Regions from separate parts of the Homo sapiens genome. Here region 1 is linked to region 2. The links are contacts of gene promoters, found by promoter capture Hi-C in blood cells and fetal thymus (Javierre and others, 2016). All regions are on one chromosome and are shown on one strand. Each heading gives the region's core, a stretch centred on a gene start or on the middle of the fragment in contact. The rest is flanking DNA. Distances are from core to core; before and after follow the strand shown.

Region 1 (4,783 bases), core at 1,141-3,640, 200 kb before region 2:
AGAGAAATCATCTCATCTGATAGGCAGGATCCGATCCAAACCTAACCAAGTGTTCTTTCCTCTATCCCATGCTGAAGCTTCTAAGGTTCTACTCAACAAGGAATTTACATCTGGGAAAACTAATCTGAAAGCGCCTTACATCCCTTTTTTTTTTTTTTTTTTTGAGATAGAGTCTCTTGCCCAGGCTGGAGTGCAGTGGCGCGATCTTGGCTCACTGCAACTTCTGCCTCCCAGGCTCAAGCCATTCTTGTGCCTCAGTGTGTGCCACCACACCTGAATAATTTTTGTATTTTTAGGAGAGATGAGGTTTCACCATGTTGGCCAGGCTGGTCTCGAACTCCTGGCCTCGTGATCTGCCCACCTGGCCTCCCAAAGTTCTGGGATTACAAACATGAGCCACTAAGCCTGGCCCCTTTTAGGACTAAAAGCAAAGAAAACACCAGCTGGCATGGGGGGATAAAGAGACCAGAGAAAGGCCAGGCCTAGGTATCTGGCTGGACAAAACCAGAACTTATAGGACCTAGCAGGGCACCTAGAATTCTGACACTTGAAACAGCCTGGGTTCTATTGATCCCTTGCAGAAGCAGAAGTAATGACGGGCTGTCATTGGGTGTGACAAGGTGTCTTGTTTCTTTGAGGGGCAGCCTAACTGGCTAAGGAATATAAGCCACCTGTGGAGAACGTCAACCAAAAGGTGCCCTGATGGTCCAGCCTTTGTCTGCCAAGGCTGGCAGTGTGACAGCAGCAGCAACTCTGGATGTCACCAGGGGCTTCTCAGGGACTCTGGGGACGGGGACAGGGCAGGTGCTCTTAGGACACTGGAGAACAGGTTCTGGCCTTCATCTGTCCAGGACAGGGTCCTTTCTGGGGGAAACGCCCCCTGCACTGGTGCTTATCCACAGAGTGAGGCCGACTCCAGAGATGCGGGCAGGGGCGTGCTCTCAAACTAGAGCTTCTCACTTCCCTAGGACCCAGACAGAAGGCCAGAAAAAATGGCTGCCTTGCCACTGAGCCACCGTCAGAGGCAGACCTCGGTGGCCTCACCCTCTGCCTTCTAAGCAGTCTCCCTCCTCATGGCTGGTCTCCCAGGCCTGGCTCTAAGCTTCCAGGACCCCTGTTCCTTGGCTCCTGCCTGTCCAGGTGGAAATATCCTGGGGAAACCCCTACACATCCGACTTTTCAAGCCAACCAGCTTCTTGCACAGGAAATGTAGACAGTGAGTCCTGAAGGGGCAGAAGCCGGGCTTTGGCCAGCCAGCCCATAAGGAGTGTGGCTTGGGGTAGGAAGGGCACCTGTGGAAAGAGCATGAGCTGTCTGGAGCTTGCCCGGATTCTCCCAGGAACCCAGGGCCCAAAGAGGGCAGACCCACACAGAGGTGGACTGAGGCAGGTCAGCTCGGCAGCTACCACCAGGGGCGGACCACAGGAAGGAGTCCAACTAAACAGAGGCACAGGTAGCTCCAAAGATGGTTCTGGGAGAAGGGAGGTCAGCCTCACAGGTCCCAAACCCAGGGATTTCTCGTAAGAATCAGTTTCCCGAGAGTCTCCTGACCCTATTTTTCCCCTTACAATAACTCCCCATCCAAAGGTAAATTCTCAGTCTCATCCCCTCCACCTAAAGATGGAGGGAGAGGGAGGTAAAAATTCCCACCTGTTCCCACCCCACCTGGGCTTCCACTACTACCCTGCTTCTATGGACATGGTGAAGATACCAAAAGAGGAAGAATCGTGGGCCCAGAGCCTCAACCCCAGCAGATGCCCTTTCTCCCTTCATTCCAGACAAGCCCCAGGCCAAGGCACACATGCCTGCTGTGGGGACCAAGGGGAGTGAGAAGCAACATACACCACCACCAGGTCAAGAGCCTGACCTCAGCCCACTTGCCATTAGTGCATCCATACCACACCCAGCCCAACCCTGTCTACAGGACCCGGGCCCCCAGGAACAGGGCTAGAGCACTCTGAGCTGCTTCTCTCCCCAGCCCCCTTTATGACAATAGGCCACAGTGGTCTGAAGGAAGAGAGTCCCATCAACATTAAAAGCACTACGCTTAACTCTGCCCCCTCAGCCCTAACCTGGCCTGCACTCACCCTTGCAGTCTTTCAGCAACCTGGCTGGCAGTCAGAACTGCAGGGACAAGAGCGGCAGGGGAGTAGACTGGGAGCCTCAGGTTAGGCTCGGCAACCTCCCTCTCCCGGCCAGCTCCCCAGAGGTACACACAAACCTGTTTGTATAGAATCAGCAAAGGGCTCTCCCTGGAGGAAGGGACTCCAAGCACCAGGCCTGGCAGGCTTTACAGAGCCAGCAGTACTTCTGAGGGCATCTGTCCATCCTCCTATCTGGTAACACATCCCTCCTTCATGCCTTCCTCTTCCTTGCTCCACACCAAGTGCACATTCTGAAGGTTCTCACTTCAAAACATCTCCCTCCCACTCCACCTGGCCCAGGTCAGGAACATATTCCCACGTATGCTTGTCTTTGCAGGTCATGCTCTGAGAACAAATAAACACCTCTGCATCCTAGAACCTACTGTGCCGGCCTGGCACACTCTCCCCACCCCCAAGCGGTGGGGGCAGCAATATATGCTGATTTGTCTTCTCTTTTAGGATCAAATGCTGGGAAGGAAGTCAGAAGTCCAGATGTCTCTGCCCCTTCAACCTGAGGGAATAAAACTTTACTGCCTGCAGGAAGCTCTGAACAATTGGTTGAACCTGCCACTCAACACAGGAACCACCTGTTCACCCTGACAGCCCCTCTTCTTAAACACTACACCACAGGGCTACCTCTGTAGCTGAAGGCCAGGTGTCACTAGCAGACAACTCTTCCTTGGGCTGAAAAGAGCTCTGTGTCCTTGTTATTTCCACACACTGGTCCCAGAGATGGCAAGTGAATCTGCACAAGCTCTCTACCAGGCAATCCCCCAAAGGCCGAAGCCAGCCTTGGAGGCACGTTCATCTCTAGCAACACTGCCCTTCAGCCTTCCATCCTGAGGCACGACCTCCTGACCCTCCTGAGATGGGCCCAACGTGCAGGAAACATGTCCAAGAGACGGGTACATCCTCTCCCATCACCTGGGCACAATGAGGTGACAGGGGCCTTGTAAGCTGTAAGTAGGGAGAACGTATCATTTATCTTCCAAACCAGAACACTGTTAATACAGTAACCATGACAAGAGCATGGTTGTGAGGAGCACATGAGGAGAGCAGGACGTGAGGCTGCACTAACTCCAAGCCACTGGGAGCACATTATAGTTACTCATTTACACCACCAAGAATGCAGCCAAGCTCCTTCCGCTGCCACAGCACATTCCAGGCCCACAGGGAGGGACCTTGTTGCCTACCACACCTGGTGCAGGGAGGCACTGCAGAGACTGCCAGAGGCCACCATCATGATACACTCATCTCTATGTTGTACCACACTTATTCCCAACTTTAAAAGTTTTTGTAATCAACATTTGATCCCCTTCTGTGCATAGAGTCCTATGGTTAGTGTGGGGGGCGGGGAACAAGGGAACACAAGGATGACCCGGGATAGACACAAAGACAATCCACTTTGGCCCTGGCGGGTTTAAAATGCGTGGTCTTGCCTGTCCTCAAACACACGTGAAGTAGCCTGTGCTGCAGCTCAGTGTGAATGGCTCATAACAGGGCAGGGGAATGAGGCTAAGTCCTGTGGCCAAGACAAGCTTGGTCTCAACTACCTACTCCCTGCTCCAGCACACACTGGTAGGGGCCCAGTGTGACTGCCATGGCCCCCAGCAGACAAAGGCCACATCAGAGGAACAGCAGGACCCTCTTCTCAGCCCTGTATAGCCTCATTTGTTCCTTCCCCACGGCAGCAGCCTTTCTCTGGATACCATACTCAACACGTTCAGCCCCGGGCCTCTCTGTGGGGCATCAGTGCCACATGGGAGCACTAGAGGGCGCCGCTGTTCTTCCTAGTGAGGAACATCCCACAATCTGCAATGGTAGCCCCAAGGCAGAGGCCCCCATTCTCTGGACCTGGGGACAGGCTCCCCAGGCCCCAGCTGGAGATCCTGCAGCTACATTCAGTCACTCCAGTTCTGGGTCTAACCCACAGCTTCCTGCCATGAGGCAGCCCACCTCTCCTTCTCTCCTCAGAGGCCCTAAGCAAGCCCTCTGGGGAAGCGCCAACAGTCCTTTCTTCCAGGCCAGCCTTCCCCTCCCTGCAAGGCACACAAGGCCAGGATGCTGCTGATTGAGCTCAAAGGCCAGGTGTCACATCTGTCCAGGCCAGGCCATCTTACCCAAAGCACAGCCCCTCCCACCCCATCTGCATGCACGGCCACAGAGCCTGGCCCTGCAGCCGCCACCTGCAAATAGGCCCCATCTTGGGAGGGATGCTGAGTGCCCTCCATCCTGCTAAAGACAAGGCTCAGAATTCAAGTGACAGCAGGACAGAAACCTCAGCTTCCTTATGGCCATCAGTGACCCAAATCCTCCAGATTCCAAGAGGCCATTAGGAGATATGGGGAAGCAGGAGAAAGAGGATGGAGACTGTAAGTGCCCCAGGCCAGTGACAACCCCACAGACTCACAGCCTGTGGGAGTCCAAGCCCAAAGCCTGGGCAGGACTCACCTACAAATGGCCCCAGCATTCACCTTGCCCCAGAAAAGGCCCAGAGACACCGTACGCACAACCACACTGAGCCTGTGCTCTGTGCCCCTTTCAATCCAGGCCCTCAGCTCCTCCCAGCAAATGCCCTGTCCAGATCTCCTGCTACCTCCCTCTACCCTACCACCTCCAAATACCTCTGGCTGGCTGTC
Region 2 (5,335 bases), core at 2,529-5,028:
TCACTGCATGAATCACTCCTTACTGCACCTCTTCAAGGATGTGGTAGCAGACATCACATACTGATAATCATGGACATGTTTGCACATCAAATACCTCCTAACACATACACTGGAAGCAGAGACAATACAACTGATTCATCCTAACACACAGTAGATATCAGTATGTTGTTAGAGGAATCACACTGAATAATGGAGAAATTGATTGACTTCATGTAACCAAAGCAATTTCCACCACTTGTTATCATGGAACTGGATGAACTGGTTACAATTAAGTAAATCCAAGAATCACCTTGAATAACAGGTGGCTTCCTGGTTCTGCTGGTCACCTACTGGGAGGTAAGAGCTTGCTGTGTCTTCTCAATGCTGCAGCTTTGCTCTAGCTGAGCTCTTAGGCTTAGGGCTTGTCTGCTTCATTCCATTTTATCCACCCAGCAAACGATGTCCAGCACAAGGCCCATGTTAGGCACTGGGTACACATAAATGAATGAGAGTTGTGCCATTAGGGTGCCTGTAGTTTAACAATCAAAACAGTGAATACTTATCTACTAATGATTCTGGTCAGACATCATGCTATTCACTTGGTCCTCACAACAATGCTGCCAAGTAGGTGGTACTGCTTCCATACTAGGATGAGGAAACTGAGGCTCAGTGTCCAAATCACTTGCCCAAGGAAGGCCTGTAATGGACTGTTGCTTTGGTGGTTCCCAATGAGACATGCCTCCCAGTATTCCTGTCCTTATGTGCTCTCCTCCCACACTGACTCAGGGATTGGCCATGTGACTTGCTTTGGCCAACTGGACATTTGCAAGCCTGATGCAGGCAGAGGCTCCATCAGCAGTAACTTAGGACTTGTCCTCTTGGAATACTCCCTCTTGGGATCCAGCTGCCACATAAGAAACTTGGGCTAGACTAGCAAATGATTAGATGCCATGTGTATTAAGACCCTGAAGAATGAGAGGCTATTTTGATGTCCCTCTCCTGTTAGGCTCTCAACATAATGCAGCTGTGTGAGAGTCTACGTGAGACCAGCAGGGCCCACAGCCACAGACACAGTCACAGCTGACCCACAGACCATGAAGGAATAATAAATCGCTGTTGTTTTAAATCCAGAAATTCTGGGGTGGTCTGTTACAACCTAATGAATAACTAAAACCATGATAAACTAGGATTTGAACCCAGTACTACCTGACTACCAAAGCTCATGCCCTTGGTCTCCACATTGTGTTCCTTCTGATTGAGAGTGGAACATCATACTAACAGTGTAATACACACAGGTTGGCCCATGGTAGCATGCAATAAATTTCTTTTTTTTGAGATGGAGTTTTGCTCTTGTTGTCCAGGCTGGAGTGCAGTGGCATGATCTTGGCTCACCCCAACCTCTGCCTCACAAGTTCAAGCAATTCTCCTGCCTCAGTCTCCTAAGTAGCTGGGATTACAGGCATGCACCACCACACTGGCTAGTTTTTGTATTTTTAGTAGAGATGGGGTTTCTCCATGTTGGTCAGGCTGGTCTCGAACTCCTGACCTCAGGTGATCCACCCACCTCAGCATCCCAAAGTGCTGGGATTACAGGCGTGAGCCACCGTGCCTGGCCTAATATTTGTTAAATGAATGGATAAAGGGTATGATAGGCCACTAGAGAGGTAAAGAGATCTAGGGAATTCAAAGGCAGGATGGTAATTACTTTTCAACAACCATCACCCCCTTCCCATTACAAATATTCCAAAACAAGGCTGTGCACAGTGGCTATAATCCCAGCACTTCAGGAGGCTGAGGCAGGAGGACTTGAGCCCAGGAGTTTGAGACCAGACTGGGCAACATAGGGAGACCCTGTCTCTACCAAAAGAAAAAAAATTAGGCAGGTGTGGTGGCATATGCCTGTGGTCCCAGCTGCTTGGGAGACTGAGGTGGGAGGATTGCTTGGGCCCGGAAGGTCAAGGCTGCAGTGAGCCATGATCACTCCACCGCACTCCAGCCTTCGTGACAGAGCAAGAGCCTGTCTAAAACAAACAAATATTCCAAAACAAAAACAAAAATGAAGCCATTTAGGCATTCCTAAATCTAGAAACAACTGTGTGGATATCACCAAACTCCCTCTCTGTGTCTGTCTCTTTCTCTGTTAAATTCAGATCAGGCAAAATTGAGAAGGTAATAGAGTTTGTTTTCTGGTGGCCCTGCCTCCCGGTCCCCACCTCCCCATCACATTCATGGCATCTTCTCTCTTCATCCCACTTGGCCTTCAGGGCCCAACAGTTCTTTCCCTCTCTTTCCATATAAAATCCACATGCAGAAAAGGGGCTGAGAAGGTGGAAATTACAGAAATGGGGAAGGAAGGTTTGGATGTTAACAGATGGATTTACAAGCCAAAGAAATGAAGCTCTAAGCTCGGTACTTTTAGGAGGCATCTGCCAGCAGGTGGAGGTATCCTAAGGATGGGGGAGGCAGCCGGAGTTGTCCCCATTATACCCCTATTAGGCCCCTGTGGGTGGGGAGTAAAGGAATGTCCACTGCCTCTATAAATCCCTCTGAGTCCCCCAAGAAGGCTGGGGCTCTGGCTCTCCACACCTGTGGCTGTGGCCCCAACATGTATACCTCCCAGAGTAGTCACTCCAGCCTGGCGAAGACCCTCAGGGGTCAATGCATCCAGTCCTCTGCCTTCTAGCAGCCCTGGCACTGCTTTTTCTGTTCTAAGCCCTGCCTTACTCTCCTGCTCCTGCAAACAGGCATACACCTCCCAAGGTCACACACAGGCTCCAGAACCTGGATCCCATACCCAGAAAACCATCTGGGCCCCTCGCTGCAGAGAGACCTAAGGAGAGAGCAGGCCCACACAGTACTCGCTGGCCGACTGTGGGCAGTGCACACAGGCCCCGTGTCACACACACTCACATGCAAGGCAATGCGGAGGGGCGCACACATTCAGAGACACTGTGAGCACTGTCACCAGTACAGGCACTGGATGTGAAGAGACAGACACATGCGTGCACACACATGCACACCTCCAGACTATCACACGTGCACACCGGCACGCACAGACACCCGCACAGGTGCCCAGCCAGGCCTCAACACCAGGCCCCTCCCCCAGCCCCTCAGAAACCGGTAGGGAGGGTTGGGGTTTCAGGGCGCTTCCCCTCCCCCCTCCCTCTGGCCCCTGTTCTCCAAGGTCCAGAGTCCCAGTGGGGTTCTGGAGCCCGCCCCCGCCCCAAAACCTGGCTCAGGGAGCGACAGGCGAGAGGGGGGAGGGGAAGCCTGGTCTCGAAACGTTCTGATTTTAATTTCTTAAATTAACCCCTTCCCTGCCTCTGGTCTGGCCTGCCCAGAATCCCTCCCCGTTGGGCGGCCTCGCGGGCCTCCGGAGGGCTGTGAAGGAGCCGGAAGGGGAAGAAGGGACAGTGGCTGGGGTCCTCCCTCCTTCCCTCTCCGGGAGCAGTCCCGCAGCGTGCCCGCGACTCGCCCTTACCTCCTCCACCCCGCGGCGAGGCCAGGCCCAGCGGCCCAGGGCTGGGGACGCAGAAGAGCCCCCGCGTGCCCGGTCCAGACGCAGGGCCGCCTTGGGGCCTCGGATCTCGTTCCCCTCCGCAGCCTTGGGTGGCCGCCGCGGCTAGCGCCCCCGCCTCCCTCTCGGGGCGGGGGCGGCCGAACCTCCCAGCCAGTCGCAGCGGGAGGGGCGCACGAACCCGGCGGGAGGAAGGATGGAGGAGGAGGAGGAGGAGGAGGGGGAGGAGGGGGCGCGCGGGCCGAGGAAAGCAAGGGAAGGGGGAGGGAGGCAGCACCGAGGTGGGGCGGAGCCGGCCCCTCCTCCGGGGCGGGCTCTCCAGTGAGCTGGGGAGCGGCAGATGCGCCCAGCAGCGGCTGCGCCGGGACCCCACGTTTTCCGCTCAAGGTGGTTTCGATGGGGGAGGGGTCTTCGGCGCCGCCCTAGGGGTGTAGGGATGGCTCGCGCCGCGCTCCTCCCGGGTCCCAGTCTTCCCGGCTCCCGGCACCGCCCAGTGCATTCCCCGCCCTGGGCACCTCCAGCTGTGGCTTCTGTTGCCCACCTTGAATCAGGGCCTCTCCGCCCTAACCCTAGCACTCTGGCTTGGGCCTGCTTCCACGCGGGGGCAAATCCGGGGGTGGGTGGTTCTGTGAATCCGGAAGGGGGCGGGCGCAGGCGCTACTCCTGAGACATGCGCCACGGTCCCTAAGCGGCCTCATGGGCAGCGCGCCTGGGTCGTGCACTCGGCGACCTCGGGTCAGATGCTTGGTCTCCGCGGAGACCGCCTGGGATGATCCCCTCTGGGCATTCCTAGGGAACCCGCGGAACTGCTGCTGGACCCCATCCGGAGACCCAATTCTGCTCTTAAAGAGCCGCCTAGGAACACGTGTACCCATCACAAATCCCATCCCGGACCTAGAGGAGGAGGAAAAGGCCTCCAGGTCCCTGGTTCCCTCCTACCCACTCCCACCATTTGGCTAAGATAGCAGCCAGGCTTCTTGGGACTGGAGCACCTAGACGGCCCCACCTTTGGCCTAAGGCCTACCAAGCTGGTGAGGCAGAAACAATCTGGCTGTCGTACGCTTGGAGGAAGTCCACAGGGCTGCAGTGGGGCTGAGAAACCACACAGGGTTTGGAGGCAACCAAGGCCAGAGCAGAGCTGAGGCTTGGATGAGAAAAGGGGGAAGTGTTATTTCAGCCTGAGGGTGGTGCTTGGGTAGGGCTGTGCACATGTGCCTTGAGGGGGAAGTGTTATTTCAGCCTGAGGGTGGTGCTTGGGTAGGGCTGTGCACATGTGCCTTGAGGGGCAATCTGGTTGCAGGAGAGCAGAAACCCAACTTAGTCCCAGGATTCCAGTAACTCGGGCTCATGGGAATTCTCTTTGACCCCCATCCCATTCCTGTGAAGGCAGAGGCATTGGGACATTCAGTATCAGGAAGGATAATTTGTAAACTTGTCAGTGGCTTTGGGGGAATGGCAAACTTAATAAGGACAGAGGCTGTACAGTGGCCAATCAGGTTGAATTCCCCCTCTCTCGATCTTCTCTTCCTCTCTGTAGCTCCTGAATTTCTTTCCTCCTCGCGGAGGTCTTCTGAGATTGGACAAATGAGAAATCACTTTTCCTAATACCCAAACGATAACAGCTCCTATTAACCAGGCACCAAGCATCATGCTAATAATTTTTATGCATATCATTTGCTCTTCCTAATATTATTATTATCCCTACTTTGCAGATGAAGACGCTAAAATTCAGAGCTCAACACATGGCATAGTCAAGACTTGAACTCAAGTCATCAAACTCCAAAGTCTATGCTCAACCACAGTGCCCTCCTGCCTTCTCTGCTATAATACAGTCCACTG

Evidence for each region. Contacts are between HindIII fragments. The CHiCAGO score rates a contact against its expected background, and 5 or more counts as called.
Region 1: a contact is called between a fragment that was not itself captured here and the fragment with the promoter of FBXO41 in region 2, in 1 of 17 cell types (total CD8 T cells). The highest score is 5.8, in total CD8 T cells.

What each region holds. Positions count from the first base shown.
Region 1 is chr2:73,081,897-73,086,679 of GRCh38, forward strand. All of the region lies in intron 3 of RAB11FIP5 (RAB11 family interacting protein 5), which reads right to left. Among named protein-coding and RNA genes, the nearest start is that of SFXN5, 13 kb to the left of the region's middle. RefSeq lists enhancers at 2,485-2,779, 3,998-4,047. The HindIII fragment of the contact is 2,580 bases long and covers 1,101-3,680 here.
Region 2 is chr2:73,280,700-73,286,034 of GRCh38, forward strand. FBXO41 (F-box protein 41) reads right to left here and starts at 3,779. Exons shown (of 13, transcript NM_001371389.2): 1 at 3,461-3,779. It overlaps LOC124907840 (a long non-coding RNA gene), which reads left to right and starts at 3,835. Exons shown (of 2, transcript XR_007087013.1): 1 at 3,835-3,883; 2 at 5,209-5,335. RefSeq lists silencers at 3,316-3,405, 3,426-3,835, 4,566-4,745, 4,756-4,805. The HindIII fragment of the contact is 9,972 bases long and covers 1-5,335 here.